2 separate regions of the Homo sapiens genome follow, and region 2 is linked to region 1. The links are contacts of gene promoters, found by promoter capture Hi-C in blood cells and fetal thymus (Javierre and others, 2016). All regions are on one chromosome and are shown on one strand. The core of a region is centred on a gene start or on the middle of the fragment in contact, and the rest is flanking DNA. Distances in the headings are between cores, read along the strand shown.

Region 1 (4,569 bases), core at 1-2,500:
CATGTTTTGGGCAAGGGGGAAGGAATAATGGAGGGAAAAGGGCGGACTCTTGGGGGGAAACCAGAGTCCTTTCACAAACCCGGGAGCCATATGTCCAAATTTGGAATTGTCAGAGAAGACCCACTAGAATCTAGGGAAAGGAAGGAGGAGGCAGGAAGCCGTGGCCAGATTAGTTGTCCCAAAGGACCTCCTGCCCTTTCCCCTTGTAGGGCCTACAAGGGTTGTGCCAGGCTTCCCAAATCTATAATCAAGACTCCCAAACCTGCAATCATTCCATACAGCTGACAAATAAATCAGTTTTCAAAGCCATTGTTTCCTTTGAAAGAGACTGGGTTTCTCAACTATGGACTTGGAGAAGGAAATCCAGGCTCAGAGAGGGAAAGCCACCGCCCAAAGTCACACTGCAACAGGGGCTGGGATTCCGATTCAGGGTATTTTGCTCCCATGCTGGTATATGGGGAATTATTTGAAGCCCCCAAACTTTGGGAAGGCCTAGACCGCTTAGGGGATGCAGAAAGAAGGGTAGTGCCCCTGCCTCACCATAGGAGGCCTCGGAGCCCCGTTGGGAGACTGCATTCATAGACAAGCAGTGGCCCAAAGGGGATGGGGTCCAATGAGGCCCTGAGGTATGTACGACCGGACGTTCAGCTCTCTGCACGCAGGCAGCCCTCCCCCGACACCACACACAAGCCATTTTATAAGCAGCTGGAGGGTCCAACGCTCTTGCTCTCAGTCTTGGGCCTCAGCCACACCCTTCTCTGCGGGTCCTTTGACTGGCGTCCAGCTGACCCCAACCCCGGACCTTCAAAGTCTCTTGAGCCCCCCCAAATTAAGGCCGGCAGGACCAGCCCCTGGCTCAGCTCCGGCGCCCAGGACCCTCAACCAGACCCTCTGCAGCAACGGGACTCCCTCCCCTCCCCCTAGCCAGGGCGCCCTCCGCCCGCGCCTCTCCGCCCCGACCCCAGATTTGCTCCGCTGCGCTCCCCAGACACACCCAGTCTGCGACACTCTCGGGTTACCGCGCCCTCCCGTCCCTGCTCCTGGCGGGGGGTACCCATCAGCCGATGACTGGGCGCTTATTTCTTGTGTCCCTGCAGCCCCCGGGAAGGGGTTCCCAGAGCGACTCCCCTCTCCAGCCTCAGCCCACTCACCGCGCAGCGGAGGCCTCGGGTCGCAGACGGACGCACGGGCGCAGGGACTCGAGGACGCAGCGCTCGCTGGATCGGAGCCCGTTAGCCCAGCAGCAACCGCAGCGCGGGGCGGACCGGGAGGACAGCCGTGGGCTCCGAGCCGGACACGTGGCGCGCAGAGGCCAATCCGGCGCGCCCGCCTCCCTCCTCCACCCCACCCCTCTAGCTCCTTAGCTCTTGGAATCTTAGAATGTCACTAGCCCGAGGGGCTTGCCGGGAGAACCTCCTCAGTTTCCAGCCCCCGGATCTGAGACTGAGAAGGATTAGGGGCTTTGGCCAAGGTCACGCGGCCCTTCAGGGCTAGAAGTCAGGGCTCCTGACTCCGGGTTCTGGACACTTTCCCGCAAATTCTTATAAGTCGCCAAAGCTTTGTTGAGAAACAGAAAATTGAGGTTTGCCAGGGGCACTTTATCTGCCTGATCAGATTCCATGCCTCAACAGCCTCATTAGGTCGGTGACATTATTTACCCACTTTCAGGAGGAGAGCCCAGTCCAGTTCCTGGACCAAGGTCACACAAATAGTGGGTTGCGGAGGCAAGCTTCTTCGTGCTCTGGGAAGCAGGGAAGGCAGGCAGGGAGACCAGCAGTTGTAATCCAGCGCTAGAACAGGAAAAATTGATAAACTGAGAATACAGAGGAAACTGAGAATTATTGTCCCCAGGGGATTGGTAAGGAGAAGATGAGGAAGTTAGAAGAATTGGACAGATACCTGCGGAAAGTGTTCCAGGCAGAGGAAACTGCTGGAGCAAATGCTCCTAGCAGGAGGCCACCTGGCGCCTCCGAGGATCAGCAGGGGGGCCAGTGTGGCTGGAATGGAGTGAGTGGGAGGGAGAGGAGAGATAAGAGGGACCCAATCAGGTGGGACCTCCGGGGCCCTTGAAGGCACGCTGTCTTTTACTCTGAGTCAACTGGGGATCCATTGCAGGATATTGAGCAAAGAAAGGGTATTATTTTTGGGTAGATGAAATCCACACAACATAAAATTAACCATTTTAAAGTCAACAATTCAGTGGCATTTTGTACAGACACAATGTTGTGTATCCACCACCTCTATCTAGTTCCAAAATATTCTCTTCACGGAAAAATAAAACAGTATACCCACTGAGCAGTCACTCCTAACTTTCCCTTACCCCTCGTCTCTGGCAACCACCAATTTGCTTTCTGCTTCTGCGGATGTGCCTATTCTGGATATTTCATATACATGGAATCACATGAGATGCAACCCTTCTTGTCTGACTTCTTTCATGTGGCATTTTGTTTGTTTGTTTTTGTTGTTGTTTTTTCACTCTTGTCGCCCAGGCTGGAGTGCAGTGGCGTGATCTCTGCTCACCACAACTTCTGCCTCCTGGGTTCAAGCAATTCTCCTGCCTCAGCCTCCCGAGTAGTTGGGATTACAGGCATGCGCCACCACACCCAGCTAATTCTGTATTTTTAGTAGAGACGGGGTTTTTCCATGTTGGTCAGGTTGGTCTTGAACTCCCGACCTCAGGTGATCCACCTGCCTCGGCCTCCCAAAGTGCTGGGATTACAGGCGTGAGCCACCGTGCCTGGCCTCATGTGGCATGTTTTTGAAGTTCATCCACACTGTAGCATGTATCAGCACTCCATTCCTTTTTTTTTTTAGTTTCAGTTGGAGTTTTGCTCTTGTTGCCAAGGCTGGAGTGCAATGGCGTGATCTCGGCTCACTGCAACCTCCACCTCTCAGATTCAAGGAATTCTCCTGCCTCAGCCTTCCGAGCAGCTGGGATTACAGGCATGCACCACCACGTGTGGCTAATTTATTTTTGTATTTAGTAGAGATGGGGTTTTACCATGTTAGTTAGGCTGGTCTCGAACTCCTGACCTCAGGTGATCCACCCGCCTTTGCCTCCCAAAGTGCTGGGATTACAGGCATGCGCCACCGTGTCCGGTCCAGCACTCCATTCCTTTTAATGGCTGAATAATTTTCCGTTGTATAAGTACACTATAATTTGTTTATCCATCCATCTGTTGATGGATAGTGCATTGTTTCCCCCTTTTGCTGATTGTGAATAGTGCTGCTAATGAACATTTGCATACAAATACTTATTTGAGTACCTGTTTTCAATTGTCGTTGTGTATTTACCTAGGAATGAAACTGCTGGGTCATATAGTAATTCTACATTTAAGTTTTTGAGGAACTGCCAAACATTTTTTCAGAGTGGCTGCAACATTTTATATTCCCATCAGCCATGTCATGTATGAGGCTTTTAATTTCTCCATGTCCTTGCCAACACTTGTATTTTATTTTTTAAAAATTTGTACCCGGCCAGGCACAGTGGCTCATGCCTGTAATGCCAGTACTTTGGGAGGGCCGAGGTGGGTGAATTGCTTGAGCCCACGAGTTTGAGACCAGCCTGGACAACATGACGAAACCGCATCTCTACAAAAAATTAACCAGGGGTAGTGGCACATGCCTGCAATCCCAGCTACTGGAGAGGCTGAGGTGGGATGATCCCTTGAAGCTGGAAGGTAGAGGCTGCAGTGAGCCGTGATTGCACCACTGCACTCCAGCCTGGGCGACAGAGTGAGAACTTGTCTCAAAAAAACAAAAGTACAAAAAACTTGTGCTCTAGTCATTATGAAATGGCATCTATAATTGTGTTTTTGATTTGCATTTCCCTTCTGACTAATGATGTGGAGTATCTTTTTTGTGTGCTCATTGGCCACTATTTGTACATCTTCTTTGGAAAAATATCTAATCATGCTTTTTGCTCATTTTTAAATTGGATTTTTTGTCTTTTTTGTTGTTAAGTTATATGAGTTCTTTTTATATTCTGGATAAGACTTTTGTGTTTGTTTGAGACAGAGGCTCGTTCTGTTGCCCAGGCTGGAGTGCAGTGGTGCCATGTCGGCTCACTGCAACCTTCACCTCGTGGGTTCAAGCAATTCTTTCCGCCTCAGCCTCCCAAATAGCTGGGATTACAGGCACCTGCTACCATGCCCAGTTAATTTTTGTATTTTTTTAGTAGAGACGGGGATTCATCATGTTGGCCAGGTTGGTCTTGAACTCCTGACCTCAGGTGATCCACCTGCCTTGGCCTCCCAAAGTGCTGGGATTACAGGTGTGAGCCACCGCACCTGGCCAAGACATATTTTTTAAAGGGTCACTGAAGTCTCCTGTGTTGGAAATACTGAATACTGTTGGGGGAAGAGTAGAAGAAGGGGATCTGCTAGGAGATTTTGCAGTAATCCAGGCAAGAGACAGGCTGGTATAAATGCAGGTGGGGGAAGTGGTTGGAGATGGGATGTATTTGAAGGTTGAACATGATTTCCGAAGGATCAGGTGGGAGATGAGAAAGAGTCAAGAATGGCTTCAGGGATCCTGGCCTGAGCCACTGGAAGGATGGAGTTACCATCA
Region 2 (4,361 bases), core at 974-3,473, 450 kb before region 1:
AGACCCATACTTCAACATTATTACTTTGGGGAATAAATACCAGCTACCTGCCATAAACGCATGACATGTGTGTAGTCTATGCAAACGTGTAAACATATGAAGCTATTCTCTACTCTATGCCCATTTCCTCCACTGGCAAATATGGAGCAGTGATTTCACAGTAGGCTCTAGCAGGTAGTGAAATAAAAATTTGAGACTCTGTGGGGTCACAAAAAAATGAAACTCTTTCTATAGTCTGCAAATCTGTAATTACCCATCCCCCTGCTCCAACTCCTAAGAGGCTAAATGTTATTACCATAATGTTAGAGATGAGTATTTTCCTTCTTACACTGCATCACATATATTACTCTGTAGGACTGTTTCATAAAATTGGCTTGACCTTTGTACAATTAGTACAATTTAGTGTCTTTTAGAGTACAATTTAGTGTCTTTTAAAAGCTTCCTAAATATTTAAAACATTTTCAAGGGAAGCTTACAAGGACTATGTCCCATCTGTATTCTACATTATAATGTTATCTTTAATTTTTTAAGACTTAAAACAAGACCAAGGTAAACAAAAAATCTGTATTTTCCTCAAGTCTCTTGGCCACTTACTAACAATACTTTTACAGAAAACACGGTGCAGCTGGTGGTCTACTTTATCAAGTTTCATTTTAGAAAACATCATAGAAATTAAGGTTAGCAACCCAACTCCAGGATACCAAGTGAAAACAGCAAGTCTGCTGTTAGGCCAGAACTGTGGGCTACTTGCTGAACTATTTTATGGTTTACAATCAAAATGGTCTTATTTGACTCACCACATGACAAAAGTCTTAAACTTAGTAAGGGGGAAAGTTCTTAATATCCAGTTTTGGATTCAAGAGATTATAATAGTTAATTTCCCCTTCAAATCAATGGAAAGAATGCTAGTTGAGAATATTCTAAAAATCTAGCCTTTAAAATGTTTTCTGCATTCCAGAAATGAACCTGTCCACTCAGGTTTTCTTTGGGTTCTTTTCCAGGTCCCAAACAGAACAACTTAACTGAGTTAAAGAGGCAGAACAGGGAAGGGGTAGGAAGTAAGACAAATAAAGATTGCCCCCCTGTGGCAGCATTAATCCCTGGGTATTGTGGCAATATTGAAAACGAATGGAATCTGCTACCCCCTTGACATGACATGTAATTGTTTGCTTCTCAAATTCTTCTTAAAAGATCCATATTTTACTGGGAAAAAAATTAAGAACAACTAATACGTGTCCTGTATTCACTTAGAAAAAGAGGGCAAATGAGAGTGCCTTAACAACTTCACAGGTTTTTCCAATCATCATGATACTAAAGATAAAGTGACAATTCAGTTTTTCAGTTATATGGAAATCTATGGCAAAATGGCAGCCATTATGGCAATGAAGGGATATGTTTTAGACTGTTAGATGATATTTAACGGAATGCAGAAAGCAGTTGGTACATTGTGACCAATGCTGGATCATTAACAGCAGGTCTACCTTTGGGTTATCATTTAAGTTTCATCTGTGACATTGTGATCCTTAGTGAGATCAGATCAAGAGACAGTACAGAGTTTCTCAGGTGGTAAATACAATGCCATTCCAAGGAACACCCATCCCCTTTCCTAGGATGGAATTATGCTGCTGTTACTCAACGTGCAGGGTTCAGTGAGGGAGACACAGACTTACTGGTGTCAACAGGGGTGAGAGCAAGAGCAACAGCAGCTACCCTGTGTTCCCAATGCCTTGCCTATGCTCCCACTTTCTTAGCAATAGAATTCCGTAGTGCATGGGTACATCGTTATAAACAAGGCCTAATGAAGCAGCAGCTTCCACATTTTAACGCAGGTTTACGGTGATACTGTCCTTTGGGATCTGCCCTCCAGTGGAACCTTTTAAGGAAGAAGTGGGCCCAAGCTAAGTTCCACATGCTGGGTGAGCCAGATGACTTCTGTTCCCTGGTCACTTTCTTCAATGGGGCGAATGGGGGCTGCCAGGTTTTTAAAATCATGCTTCATCTTGAAGCACACGGTCACTTCACCCTCCTCACGCTGTGGTGTAACTTTGATGAAAATACCCACTTTGTTGGCCTTTCTGAAGGCTATAATGCTATGGAAAGAAAAAAAAGCAAGTATTAGGTAGATAAAAAAATCAGCCAAACCACTAAGACTTACAGTAAAAGTCTTTCACCTTATTCTTTCCTTCAGCACACACAGAAAACCTATAAACACTTTGTTCTTAACCTACCAAGTATTTTTTTGTTTTGTTTTGAGACACAGTCTCGCTCTGTCGCCCAGGCTGGAGTGCAATGGCTCCACCTTGGGTCACTGCAACCTCTGTTTCACGGGCTCAAGTAACTCTCCCATCTCAGCCTCCCGAGTAGCTGGGACTACAGGCATGCACCACCACACCTGGCTAGCTTTATATATTAATACGTATATTTTTTGGTGGAGATGGGGTTTCGCCACGTTGCCCAGGCTGGTCTCGAACACCAGGGCTCAGGTGATCTGCTTGCCTTGGCCTCCAAAAGTGCTGGGATTACGGGCATAAGCCAACACGTTGGCCATATATTTTTCTATGAGCTTATACTTTTCTGCTTTTCTAACCAACACAGATGGTACACACTATTCCATAACTTGCTTTTTTTTAACTCTGTTTATCACAAACACCTTTTGACGCTGGTATATACAGATCATCTACAATCTATGTAATGGTTGCACAGTATTCAATTATGTGTTTACCATAATTGGCATATACTGAGGTTGCTGACAACTTTTCTCTATTATAAACAATGGTGCTGCAAACATCCCTTTACATTTACCTCTGTGCAAATGCAATATTTCTATAGAACATAGACTCATACCGTGGAAAGTTATTTATTTATTTATTTTTTTGAGATGGAGTCTCGCTCTGTCACCCAGGCTGGAGTGCAGTGGCGCAATCTTGGCTCACCGCAACCTCCGCCTCCTGGGTTCCAGCGATTCTCCTGCCTCGGCCTCCTGAGTAGCTGGGATTACAGGTGCACACCATCACGCCCAGCTAATTTTTATAATTTTAGTAGAGATGGGGTTTCACCACATTGGTCAGACTGGTCTCGAACTCCTGATCTCAGGTGATCCACCCGCCTCAGCCTCCCAAAGTGCTGGGATCACAAGCATAAGCCAATGCACCCGGCCTTATTTTTATTTTTTAGAGACAAGGTTTTGCTCTGTTACCCAGGCTGGAGAGCAGTGGCACGATCATAGTTCATGGTAGCCTTGACCTCCTAAGCTCAAATGATCCTTCTGCCTTGGCCTCCCAAAGTGCTGGGATTATAGGCATGAGCCACCATGCCTGGCCATACTGTGGGAAGTTTTAATAACTCAGTGCTTTAAGGGAAATTTTGGAACACCATAAATCAAGAATGTTTTTGTAAATAACTTATGTAATTAGGAATTTTAGCACAAAAATGTCTCTTCATTGAGGTTTGCATTTCAATTTCCCCTCATTTGTGCATACAGTTTGTGCTTTAATAACTTAGTTTCTGAAAGTAAAAGGGCAATGAAATAAACAGAATTTGTCTACTACCCAAATGACATTCAGTTACTCTAAGAAAGGTTACTGGGATTACATATTTACATATTTATACAGTGTTAGTTTCCAGAAATCTGAAAGTTCTATTAAATCTAATAATGTAAAATATAATTAATTCAGTTTTTAATTACTCTATCATGTAATCAGGCTGAAATCTGATATCTCAGACAATCATTCCAGAAGTATATCTTGGCTTAACAAATTTCTGTACCTAATTAATTTGAGGACCCACATAAAGCAAGGATTTGAGAGAACACATTTTGTACTGTACAACTCAGCACATTTTGTATTACAGTAACTAACCAGACCTTTGATTTGTATGAGTCATGTAAAAAATAATTCAAACAGTTTAAAATGGTAAAAAGAAAAACATCAGTCTTTCTTTTTATCCTTAATTTCCCAGGCAACCACTGATACCTGGGAAGCTTTTCCAAAACAAATTTGGATTTCTGGTCCCTAGCTAGACCTGCTAAAAAAAATCCTCTGGGGTTAGGGTCTGGAATGCTATCGAACAACAAAACAAAACAACACTTGACCTGGTGCTTTCTGAAGTTAACCCACGTTTGGTATCACTAAACTAATCTCACCTTTGCCTTCACTTTATTTTTCTTTTCTTTTCTTTTTTTTTTTTTTTTGAGACGGAGTCTGGCTCTGTTGCCCAGGCTGGAGTGTAGTGGCGTGATCTGAGTTCACTGCAACCCCCGCCCCTAGGGTTCAAGTGATTCTCCCATCTCAGCCTCCCAAGAAGCTGGGATTACAGGCACGTGCCACCACGCCTGGCTAATTTTTGTATTTTTAGTAGAGACA

What was found. Contacts are between HindIII fragments. The CHiCAGO score rates a contact against its expected background, and 5 or more counts as called.
Region 2: a fragment that was not itself captured here is called in contact with the fragment with the promoter of ANXA6 in region 1 in 3 of 17 cell types (naive CD4 T cells, activated CD4 T cells and fetal thymus); the score reaches 6.1 in naive CD4 T cells.

What each region holds. Positions count from the first base shown.
Region 1 is chr5:151,156,529-151,161,097 of GRCh38, forward strand. It overlaps ANXA6 (annexin A6), which reads right to left and starts at 1,251. Exons shown (of 26, transcript NM_001155.5): 1 at 1,152-1,251. RefSeq lists an enhancer at 1,412-2,268 and a silencer at 2,064-2,123. The HindIII fragment of the contact is 7,741 bases long and covers 1-1,555 here.
Region 2 is chr5:150,709,273-150,713,633 of GRCh38, forward strand. DCTN4 (dynactin subunit 4) reads right to left here. Exons shown (of 13, transcript NM_016221.4): 13 at 1-2,090. The coding sequence ends at 1,877. Among named protein-coding and RNA genes, the nearest start is that of RBM22, 10 kb to the left of the region's middle. The HindIII fragment of the contact is 3,508 bases long and covers 470-3,977 here.